2 separate regions of the Homo sapiens genome follow, and region 1 is linked to region 2. The links are contacts of gene promoters, found by promoter capture Hi-C in blood cells and fetal thymus (Javierre and others, 2016). All regions are on one chromosome and are shown on one strand. Each heading gives the region's core, a stretch centred on a gene start or on the middle of the fragment in contact. The rest is flanking DNA. Distances are from core to core; before and after follow the strand shown. Region 1 holds the start of TMEM74B (transmembrane protein 74B). Region 2 holds the start of FAM110A (family with sequence similarity 110 member A).

What was found. The method cuts DNA at HindIII sites, captures the fragments that hold promoters and counts their contacts. A CHiCAGO score of 5 or more calls a contact.
Region 1: the fragment with the promoter of TMEM74B here is called in contact with the fragment with the promoter of FAM110A in region 2 in 1 of 17 cell types (erythroblasts); the score reaches 5.2 in erythroblasts.

What each region holds. Positions count from the first base shown.
Region 1 is chr20:1,183,201-1,187,975 of GRCh38, reverse strand. TMEM74B (transmembrane protein 74B) reads left to right here and starts at 2,995. Exons shown (of 3, transcript NM_001304748.2): 1 at 2,995-3,674; 2 at 4,028-4,205. The coding sequence starts at 4,175. The HindIII fragment of the contact is 2,699 bases long and covers 505-3,203 here.
Region 2 is chr20:830,390-835,622 of GRCh38, reverse strand. It overlaps FAM110A (family with sequence similarity 110 member A), which reads right to left and starts at 1,908. Exons shown (of 2, transcript NM_001042353.3): 1 at 1,672-1,908. RefSeq lists a silencer at 1,508-1,657. The HindIII fragment of the contact is 11,509 bases long and covers 1-5,233 here.

The sequences.
Region 1 (4,775 bases), core at 1,746-4,245, 350 kb before region 2:
TGTTTCCAGGAAACAGAGCTTCCAAAGGTCAAATTCTCATGCAAAAGAGGAAAAGGTTTTGTTAACCCTTTACTTACATTCATCAGTGAGGCTCTCCACTGCTCTGAGGATAAAGAACAAATTACTTGGCCTGTAAGGCTCTGCAGTGACCTGACCTGCTAAGCCCAGGCTCGTCTCCTACCAGGTTCCTTATCAGGCCCTCCATGACAACCATACTGGTCTCCTGCAACTCTCAAACTCGTCACACACTTCCTTCTACCCCAAGGTCTTCGCCTATGCTAGGCGCTCTGCTGGACTTCTCTTTCCTCCCCTCTTTATCTGGTTGCCTTCTACTCATCCTTCTAATCTCAGCTCAGTCCACACTTTTACAGGAAGCCATTCCTATCCCCAAGACTAGGTTGGCACCCTTGTTTGAGGCTTGCACTCTATACTTTTATTTGGTAGCATTTACTATAACTGCAATGTTACATTTACTTATCCTTTTCTCCCACTAGAATACAAGCTTCCTGAGTGTAGGGATGGAGTCTACCTAGCTAACTAGTATATAATATTTGCCCATTTTCTCTGTTCTTTATTCAGTGAGCACTTATCCAGAGCTTCCTAGGTGTTAGCCCCTTTTCTAGTGTCTGGGGATACTGCAGGGAGGGAAACAGGCAAAAACCCTCTTCTTTTGGCACTTATTTTTTAGGGGAGGTGGCAATAAGCAAACAGAAACTAATGTCAGTTGGTAAGTGCTATAGAGAAAAATTCAGAGTGAGGGAGTAAAGAGTGCTGGGGCACTGCTATTTTTGAAAGGATGGCCTGGAATGGCGTCTCTGAGAAGGTGGCATTTGAGCAAAGACTTGAAGGAAGTGAGGGAAGGGGGTGAGTGCGGGAAATATCAGAAAGAAAAACGTCCCAGGCAGAAGGAACAGCCAGCGCAAAGGCTGAGGTAGGACAGCGCATGACTGAGGGAAGGAACAGTGAGTGCTTTAAAGGCGGTATCTCATCCCATTCCCATAACACTTCCTACATCCGTTTCACAGAGGAGGAAACCGAGCTCCAGGAGGGCAGTCCTTTACACCAGGGCACCCAGCTGTGGGGGTGGAGCTGGGATTTGAACAGGAGTGTGGTGCCAGGGCTAGCATCCCTTTGAAGTCTCTAACAACGGGCCAGGCCTCTGCAAGGCTGGGAGGAAATGGAGGCCTTCCCAGCCCTGGTGGACCTGCCTAGGGCTAGGCTATGCTGGCCTTGAAGGCACAGGCATCCATCATCCAGGGTGACTTCCAGTCTCCTGGTTGGGGAGGGCTGCACAGAACTTTGGAGGAGGGCAGGTCAGGCTCCGCTCATGAGGTGGCCGAGGAGCAGGACATGGCACACTCATTCGCCTGTCCTTCCACATGGCCAACTTCTGCTGGCCTTCCCAGAGCCCTCAAAGCCTGCACATTCACAATCCTCATGGACAGAAGTGGATACAGGCTCAGAGGCCAGAGGTACTAACCGAGACCACACGATTCAGCTGGTCACCGTGTCTTCCCGGAACCTGCACGATTCAGACCAAAGCTGTCTCTGGGGTTGGCGTGTGTTCCCCAAAGAGGAAACGTCTCCATGAATTTGGTACTCTAGGCACTTCGCTGGACTCATCTTAACTCCGGCCCTGTAAAGGAAAGAAGTGAAAGTCACCCCTTTTCACAGCCTGTTCACCCACACCCACCTAGGTCTTCTAGGTGATCAGACATGGGTCCTGCTCTCCAGGAGCTGCCAATCCGATGGAGGAGGCTGACCCTTAAACAAAATCACGACCGTCAGAGACAAGAGCAAACAGTGCGGGCAAAAGGAGAGCCCAGATGGAGGGGCCCGTGGGGTAAGTGGGTGTGTGCCCAGGGAGGGGTTCCAGGAGAAGAGGCCCCACAGCTGGGCCTTGGAGGGTGAGGGTGTGTTTGGCCATTGGCAATGCCCCCAGGAGAACACCCCTCTTGGGCGGAGCACTCCACTGTCCCACGGAGAAAAAAATTGCAGAGAAAAGGGGGAGGGGGATCGTCGGATTCTTTCTTGCAGCCTTCAGGTGGCGCCCTTGAGCCACGGAGCCGCAAGCGCCCGAGGAGACCGTCCCGACCTAAGGACCTCGGAGAGGACCCGGGGTCCTACCTGGGGGCTGCGTGCGGGGTGGGGGTGGGGGGAAGGGGAAGTGGCAGAGTGGGGGTGAGGAGTGGGGAGGCACCTGCGCTTGGCGCAATAGGGGCTCTCCGGTGGTGGGGAGGGATCTTCTTCAGCAGCCCCCGCCCGCCCCGCCCCTGCGCCCGTGGACCGCGGGCTCCAAGCCCCAGTTCCCTAAGCCCAGGCGCCGGCGATCCAGATCTGCCTGGAGGGGAGGGGAGGACGGTGGATCGGAGCCCCCGCACCCTCGCCCCAGCCCATCACCCGCCTTCCTGTCCCTCTCCTTGCTAACTCTCCGGGCGCCCTCGCCGGCCGCGGGCGGAGCTCCCTCCGCGGCGCTCGGCGAGCCCCGGCCCCCGCCCCTTCTCCCGTCCCTCCGTCCCCGGATCCCCCCCCCGCCTCCCCAGCGGCCGCCACCGCCGCCGTACAGCTCCGCGCGGCGCGAGTAGGTACGTGCGCCTCGGCAGTGGCTCCGGGCCGGGCCGGGAAGGGGGCGGGAGACCGGGAGGGCGAGGCGGTGGCGGCCGGGCCCGCGCCCTCCGGGCTGCGCCGCAGGAGAGAGACCCCCGCAGGCGAGACCCCCGCAGGCGTACGCCGGCTGCAGGAAGGCGGACGGGCACCGGAGAGGACGCACCCTCGCCCGCCGGCGGCCGGGCGCCCTTCGCCCCAGCGTGGTGAGGCGGGGAGGGAGGCCCGGCACAGGTACGCACGCGGAGAGGGGACCGCTGGGGGCGGCAGGAGGCCGAGGGCCGGGGGCGGGGAGTGGCGGCGAAGGACGGCGAGCCTGACCTCGCGGCCCGCCGAAGGACATGCGACCAGGGGACCCGGCCTCCCCGGGCCTCCGCCTGGTCCGGTTCGGCCTTCCGGGTCCCGCGTCTGTGGGCAAGGGCAGGAGCAGGGGGTGTGGACTGGGCCGGCGGGAGCGGGCGCGGTGGGCAGCCGGCGTGCTGGGGCTTTCTGCGCGCAACTTTGGGTACAACAGCGTGGACCTGCGTGTGCGTATCTGCGCGCCCCAAGGCTTTGTGTACAACTCGTGCGTGTGTCTATCGACTGGGTTTTGTGAAGCTTCACCCACAGCCGCTGTGCGTCCCTCTCTCCGGGTGTCAGTGCGCGCGGCGGGTGGGGTATTGGGCCCCTGCGGGTCTTGGTGGATCTGGCTTGGGTCTCACTCCCAGGGGCACTTTGTGTGTGTGTGTGTGTGTGTGTGTGTGTGTGTGTACGCGCGTGTGCGTGTGACGGGGTACTCGCGTGGCCCGAAGATCCGAGGGTCACACTACGTGACTTCTGGGTGTCTGTGGGTACTGCTGTGGGAACAGCTGCTGGGGGAGTGTGTGTGGAACTGGAGTGTTCCTTTCAGGACCTGTCTGACTGCAGATGAAATTAGTAACTGGTGGGGTCGTGGGGTGTGAATGGTGGGCGGGAGCAGCTATGTCAGTTGGTGTGTTTCTGCTTATGTTAGGGTAATTGGGCACGGCCTTTGTGTAACTGGTGAATATCTCTGAACCTGGGCATGAAACAGAGAGATGTCCTAACTCTGGGTGAGAGGAATCCTCATTTTTCTCTGCCCTCTCACTGTGGCATCCTAAGAAAAAAGTTTTGGGTTCCTGCAGCATGAAGGAGAGCTCTGCTCCCAGAATTTGGGAGCTCCAGATTTCTTCCAGGGTGTGGAGGCATCAATATATCAGTCTGGGAAAGGGGTTCCTGGGCCACTCCAGGAGCTGAGTTGGGTGGAAGGTGCTGAGGGTGTGGGTGGGGGCCACTTCTGAGCACCCATGTGGCACCCACTGCTGGTCCCTGTTTGTGGCTGGGCACTCAGGAAAATGTTTTTGGTGCTAAGAGTAAAAAGCCAACCAACAAACACATCTCTTTTTTCTGTCTATTCACTGGAAAGTAAAAGCAGTCTGGGCGCAGGCTGGGGACCCAGATGGAATTCAAACTTATGCCTGCTCTCAAGGTGCTCACGGTTGCTGATAAACAGCTGGATAAAATGAAGAGTCTATGAGTGAGGGATGCAGAGCCAGGGAAGGCTGGTGGAGTGATGCCACCAGCACAGGGGTATGAGTTTGCAGGTTTGTACATGATAATAATTCTTAGGGAATCTGCATTCAACTCCTGTCCTCCACCCTCCCATACATGCCATGGGATCTTGGCCATGTTTTATGAAATAGAGACAGTAATTCCGGATCGTGGGGCTGGTGAGGGTGATATGAGATACTCCTGCATGAAGTGTCGGGTACATGGCTCAACAGCTAGTAGGTGCTTGGTAAACATTTACTAAATTGAGACTCTGGAAAGAGAGACGTAGTGATAGAAATGGGCTGTAAAGGGAAAAGAGCTTTGTACTCACATGAAAGGCCCTATATGTGCTAAGAGGAGGTGTCTGATGCTAGTCCATATTGACAAGAAGGTCAGAAAGATTGAAAAACATGTCTTCCTGCACTGAGGCTCTTTGAGTTTCATTCATTCATTCATTCCATTCATCCTCACTTCATTTGCTCATATTTACACACACACACACACACAAACACACACACACACACACACACACAGAGAACGAACCACAGTGCACTGGAGAATAAACTCCGGCATGAGAATGCAGAGAATCGTGTGTGTGTGCATGTATGTGTGCGTAGACACAC
Region 2 (5,233 bases), core at 659-3,158:
ATGTGGACATCTAGGCCCACTGATACCAAGTTGATCTTCTAGGCCTAGGTCTGCACTTGAGGTTGCAAAATGGGGATGAAGGATTTTGCAGTGAGGACAGAATGGAAGATAACACATGCAAGGTCTTGGGGAAGGGCCTGGCACGCAGGATTAGAAAGGGGAGGGGGAGGCAGATCCACAGCCAAGCCCACTTCCTATCCTAGACTGCCCTCTGCCCAGGCCTGAGTGCACCATCATGACTTCTTAGCTCAGCCCAGAGACTGAAGAAACTTACTCAATGTCACAGAGCAACTCAGGGACAGGGCAGTGGTTTCATGATTTATAAATATGCATATATATACACATATATACATATATACACACATACATATATATACATATATGTGTGTGTGTATATATGTGTGTGTGTATATATATATATAGAGAGAGAGAGAGAGAGAGAGAGAGAGAGAGAGAGATGGGAGGACTGCACTTCATGAAGGCTGTGTGAGTTAACCTCCTGCCTGCAGAACACACAAATGGTCCATGAACGTTAGTTTCAGTCTTGATTACTGAGGTTTTGGGCATCCCTAAATTTTGCACTGGCTCAATTGCCTCAGCCCCTGCCTTGCATCACAGTGGGAGAAGATGATACATTTGCTAATAAGTAAAAAAACCAAAACATGCAAGAACCAGAGCAGGGCTTATGAAGTCAATAAATAATATTTGTTGAAAGAATAAAAGAAAGCCTTGTTTTCTTTCTGAGTCCTCGGAGATCCTGTCCCCCAAAGCCAGGGGCAGGCTCCAGAGGAGAGAGGATATGTAACTCCCTTATGAAGAGATTGAAGACTCTCAAAATGCATGATTCTGTGTGTCAAGGATTCTAAGATTGAAGCCAGAGGGACTAGGAGCTAACCACTGCATTGTCTGACTGTGACTTCGAAAAGGGGCTTAACTTCTTAGAACCTCCGTTTCCCCACCTACAAAAGGAGACTGACAATAGCAACCTAGGGGGCAGGGGGTGTCCCCAGGAGACACAGCAGGGTCTGGCCTAGGTCAGCTGCTCCACCTGGGGGGATTCCGGCCCCACTCCCAATTCCAAAGTCTCTGGTGACTAGTGGCTTTGGTTTAGGGACTGGCTCTATTCCCTTCCCCAAACTGGGGATGATTCCCAAGAGGCCAGCAGCGGCTCTGGGGGCTGGAGAATCTGCTGCCCCTGCATCCAGCCCAGAAATGTCAGTCCCGTCCGATCCCCAAAGAGTGGTCCTCTGTCCCCGTAGACAGAAAGGCGCCAAATGAGCCGAGTCCAACCCCGGACTGCGGAGAAGGAAAGACAGACGCCCAAAGGGGGTATCCCGAGGACAGTGTGGGGCGCGGGGATATGTGATCCAGCCAGGGGTCTACAGGTCCCTGCCGATAAAACGCTGGGAAAATGACTACCAGTTGCCCGTCTGGGCCTCTCAAGGCAAGTCCAGATGTGACTAGACTAGGGGGCTGCGAGGTGGGGCAGAAAGACTTGAACTGGATTCTCCGCCAGAGCTCGCCGGGCCGGGACACTTGCCTCTCTGAGCCTCAGAGTCCTCATCTGTGAAATGACACGCAGGTACGACGCGGGGAGAAAGCAGACAGCAGACGCTCGGGGAACGGGGCCCCCAGACCCGGGGTCGCACCCGGACCCACCCGCGCCCTCACCTGGAGCCCGCGCTAGGCGTGTCCCGGCTCCTCTCGCGCAGGCTTTGGAGAGGCTGACAGCTCGGACCCGGGCCGGTAGTGGCCGCTCCCAACGACGCCCAGGAGGCCCCAGCCCCGCGTGGGCACCTTTGGGGTCCCCTTTGGAGCTGCCCTCCGCGGTCGAGCTGAGCGGGTGGCCCTCACTGTCGAAGGCCCCCACCGCAGGGAAAGTCCCTGGGGCGCCGTGGAAGGGGAAGTGAGCACGCCGCCCCCCTTCACACCAGAATGGTTCGCCCCGGACTTCCTGATTGGTTCCTCGCTTCCGTTCGAACGGCGCGCCGCCAGGGTTGCCAGGCGACCGCTTAGCTTCCCCCGCCCGAAGGAGAGGCGCTGCTCAGCAGCTCCGCCCGCTCCTCCCAGCCGGCCCCACCTTCTTCCTGCCGCCGCTTCAGCCCCGGCGCCTGGTTCTTTCCCTTCCTCCTCCTCCCTCCCGCGGCCAGCTGGGACTTCCTCTAGGACCCCAGCTGGAAGAGCTCCAGTTAGAGGGCCCTGGCTGGTTCCTAGTCCTGACTTTGACGCTAACTCCCTATGTGACCCGGTGCAAGCCCCTTCCTTTCTCTGTTCTCCTAACTGCATGATGATGAGTGAGTTAATTTTAAAATGTGCATACCCAGCAGTCCCGAAATTTACAAAGGAAATGACCAAAGATATGAGCAAAGATTAATATTGCTCAGCCTTATTCATCATAGCAAAATAATGGAAACAACTTCAATGCCTCTTGAAAGGGATTGGTTATATAATTCCATCCTGTGGAGGAGCTAACTTAATTGAGCTTTTTGCATGCCGGGTAGCTTTACAGAACAAGTCTTGTCAAGGCTTATGACATAACCCTCTAAAAGTACTTTTAATTATTAACACTTTATTTATTTCTTTATCTTTTTCTTTTCTTTTTTTTTTTTTTTTTTTGAGATGGAGTCTCACTCTGTCGCCCAGGCTGGAGTGCAGTGGCAGGATCTCAGCTCACAGCAGCCTCAATCTCCTGGGGTCAAGCAATCTTCCCACCTCAGCCTCCCAAGTAGCTGGGACTACAGGTGTGCACCACCACACCCGGTATTTTCTGTATTTTTTGTAGGGATGGGGTTTTGCCATGTTGCCCAGACTGATCTTAAACTCCTGAGCTCTAGCAATTCTACCAACTCAGCCTCCCAAAGTACTAGGATTACAGGCATGAGCCACGCCACCTAGCCTAATTTTTCCCACTTTCTGATGAGGAATATTATGCAGCCATTAAAAGTGAAGTAGCTACCAGGAGCAGTGGCTCACACCTGTAATCCCAGCACTTTGGGAGGCTGAGGCGACCAGATCACCTGAAGTCAGGAGTTCAAGACCAGCCTGGCCAACGTGGTGAAACCTCGTCTCTACTAAAAATACAAAAATTAGCCAGGCGTGGTGCCACATGCCTGTAATCCCAGCTACTCAGGAGGCTGAGGCAGGAGAATAGATTGAACCTGGGATGTGGGGGATGCAGTAAGCTGAGATCATGCCACTGCACCCCAACCTGGGCAAGAGATCATCTCAAAAAGATAAAAATAAAAGTGAAGTAGCTAGAAGATATTTAAAGATAGGGGGAAATGCTAAGTATTAAACATTGGTTTATTTATGTTTTTTAGAGACAGGGTCTAGCTCTGTTGCCCAGGGTGGAGTGCAGTGGTGCAATCATAGCTCACTGTAACCTAGGTTGAAGCAATCCTCACACCTCAGCCTCCAGAGTAACTAAGACTACAGGCCCGCATCACCATGTCAAGCTACGGGTCTCGCTATGTTGCCCCAGGCCAGTCTAGAACTCCTGGCCTCAAGTGATCCTCCTGCTTTGGCCTCCTGAATTTCTAGGATTACAGGCATAAGCCAATGCACCCCTCCCAAATTTTTTTGAAGTACAGTATGCTTCAAAACACTATGTACAGCATAAATATGTATTAAATACATATGTATATGTGTATAATCATCTATAATCACAGCAGTTAATTTCTTCTTTGTGTTTTTGTGAATTTTCCAAATTTCCAATACTTGAACATGTCAAAAAAGTATATTTTTAGGGGGATTAGAATGAATTAACTCTAAGGGCCTTTAAGGTGAGGAAATTTTATAGCAGTCAGTCTGAATTGCTCAATTTGGAACCAGCTTCTCTGTTTCATTCCAGCTGGTGTCTTTTATTCTTTGTTTGGATTGCCAATAATTGAGAACTTACTGCGTAAACCCCTGGGTGGGCAGGGGAGGGAGCTAATAATATATCAATAGCTAATAATGATTGTACACTCTGGCATGGACACCAACCAAATCAGAGCCAACCACTGTCATAAACAGGGAGTCTGCTGTATCCGTGAGGACCAGCTAAATATCAATCCTGGCCCTGTGCCCTCTGCTACATTGTGTTAGGGCTTTATACACATCATCTCATTGGACTTCATGACTATCTAAGGCGAGAGATCCTGCTATTATTCCCATTATATAGATGAGAAAACTAAGGTCGGTCTGGATCCAGAATGAATTCTCTGATCCACTCTGTTACATTCCCTTGTAAACATGTGAGAACTGTTTGGGAGTAACAGTGAGGTAAGGCAAGGGGGATCCTGTGATCCTATAAGACACAAGAGAAGATTGAGCAGGTAGCTTCAGCCTAGGGAGACTTCTTTTTTTTTTTTTTTTTTTTTTTTTGAGACAGAGTTTCACTCTTATCGCCCAGGCTGGAATGCAATGGCACGATCTCAGCTCCCTGCAACCTCTGCCTCCCAAGTTCAAGTGATTTTCCTGTCTTAGCCTCCTGAGTAGCTGGGATTACAGGTGCCCGCCACCATACCCGCTAATTTTTTGTATTTTTAGTAGAGACAGGGTTTCAGTATGTTGGTCAGGCTGGTCTTGAACTCCTGACCTCAGGCGATCCACCCACCTCGGCCTCCCAAAGTGCTGGGATTACAGGCGTGAGCCACCACGTCCAGCCCTAGGGAGACCTCTTTAAGAAAAAATTACAGATATGAAATTAAGTAATAAAGTGAAGATTTGGTTAGAAAGAGACAAGAAACCACAATAAGGTGGCTCATGCCTGTAATCCCACCACTTTGGGAGGTCGAGGTGGAAGGAGTGCCTGAGCCCAGGGGCTTCAGACCAGCCTGGGCAACAAAGCGAGATCCCCAGCTCTACAAAAAAATTTTAAAAAGAAATTAGCTGGCCAGGCATGGTGGCTCATACCTGTAATCCTAGCACTTTGGGAGGCCGAGGCTGGTGGATCACCTGAGCTCAGGAGTTTGAGACCAATCTAGACAACATGGCAGAACCTCATCTCTACTAAAAATACAAAAAATTAGCTGGACGTGGTAGTGGGCACCTGTAATCCCAGCTACTTGGGAGGCTCAGCCAGGAGAATCACTTGAATCTGGGAGGCAGAGGTTGCAGTGAGTCAAGATTGTGCCACTGCACTCCAAGCTGGACGACAGTGAGACTCCGTCTCAAAAAAAAAAAAAAAAAAGGAAAAAAGAAATTAGTCAGGCATGGTGGCACGTGCCTATAGTCCCAGCTACTCAGGAGG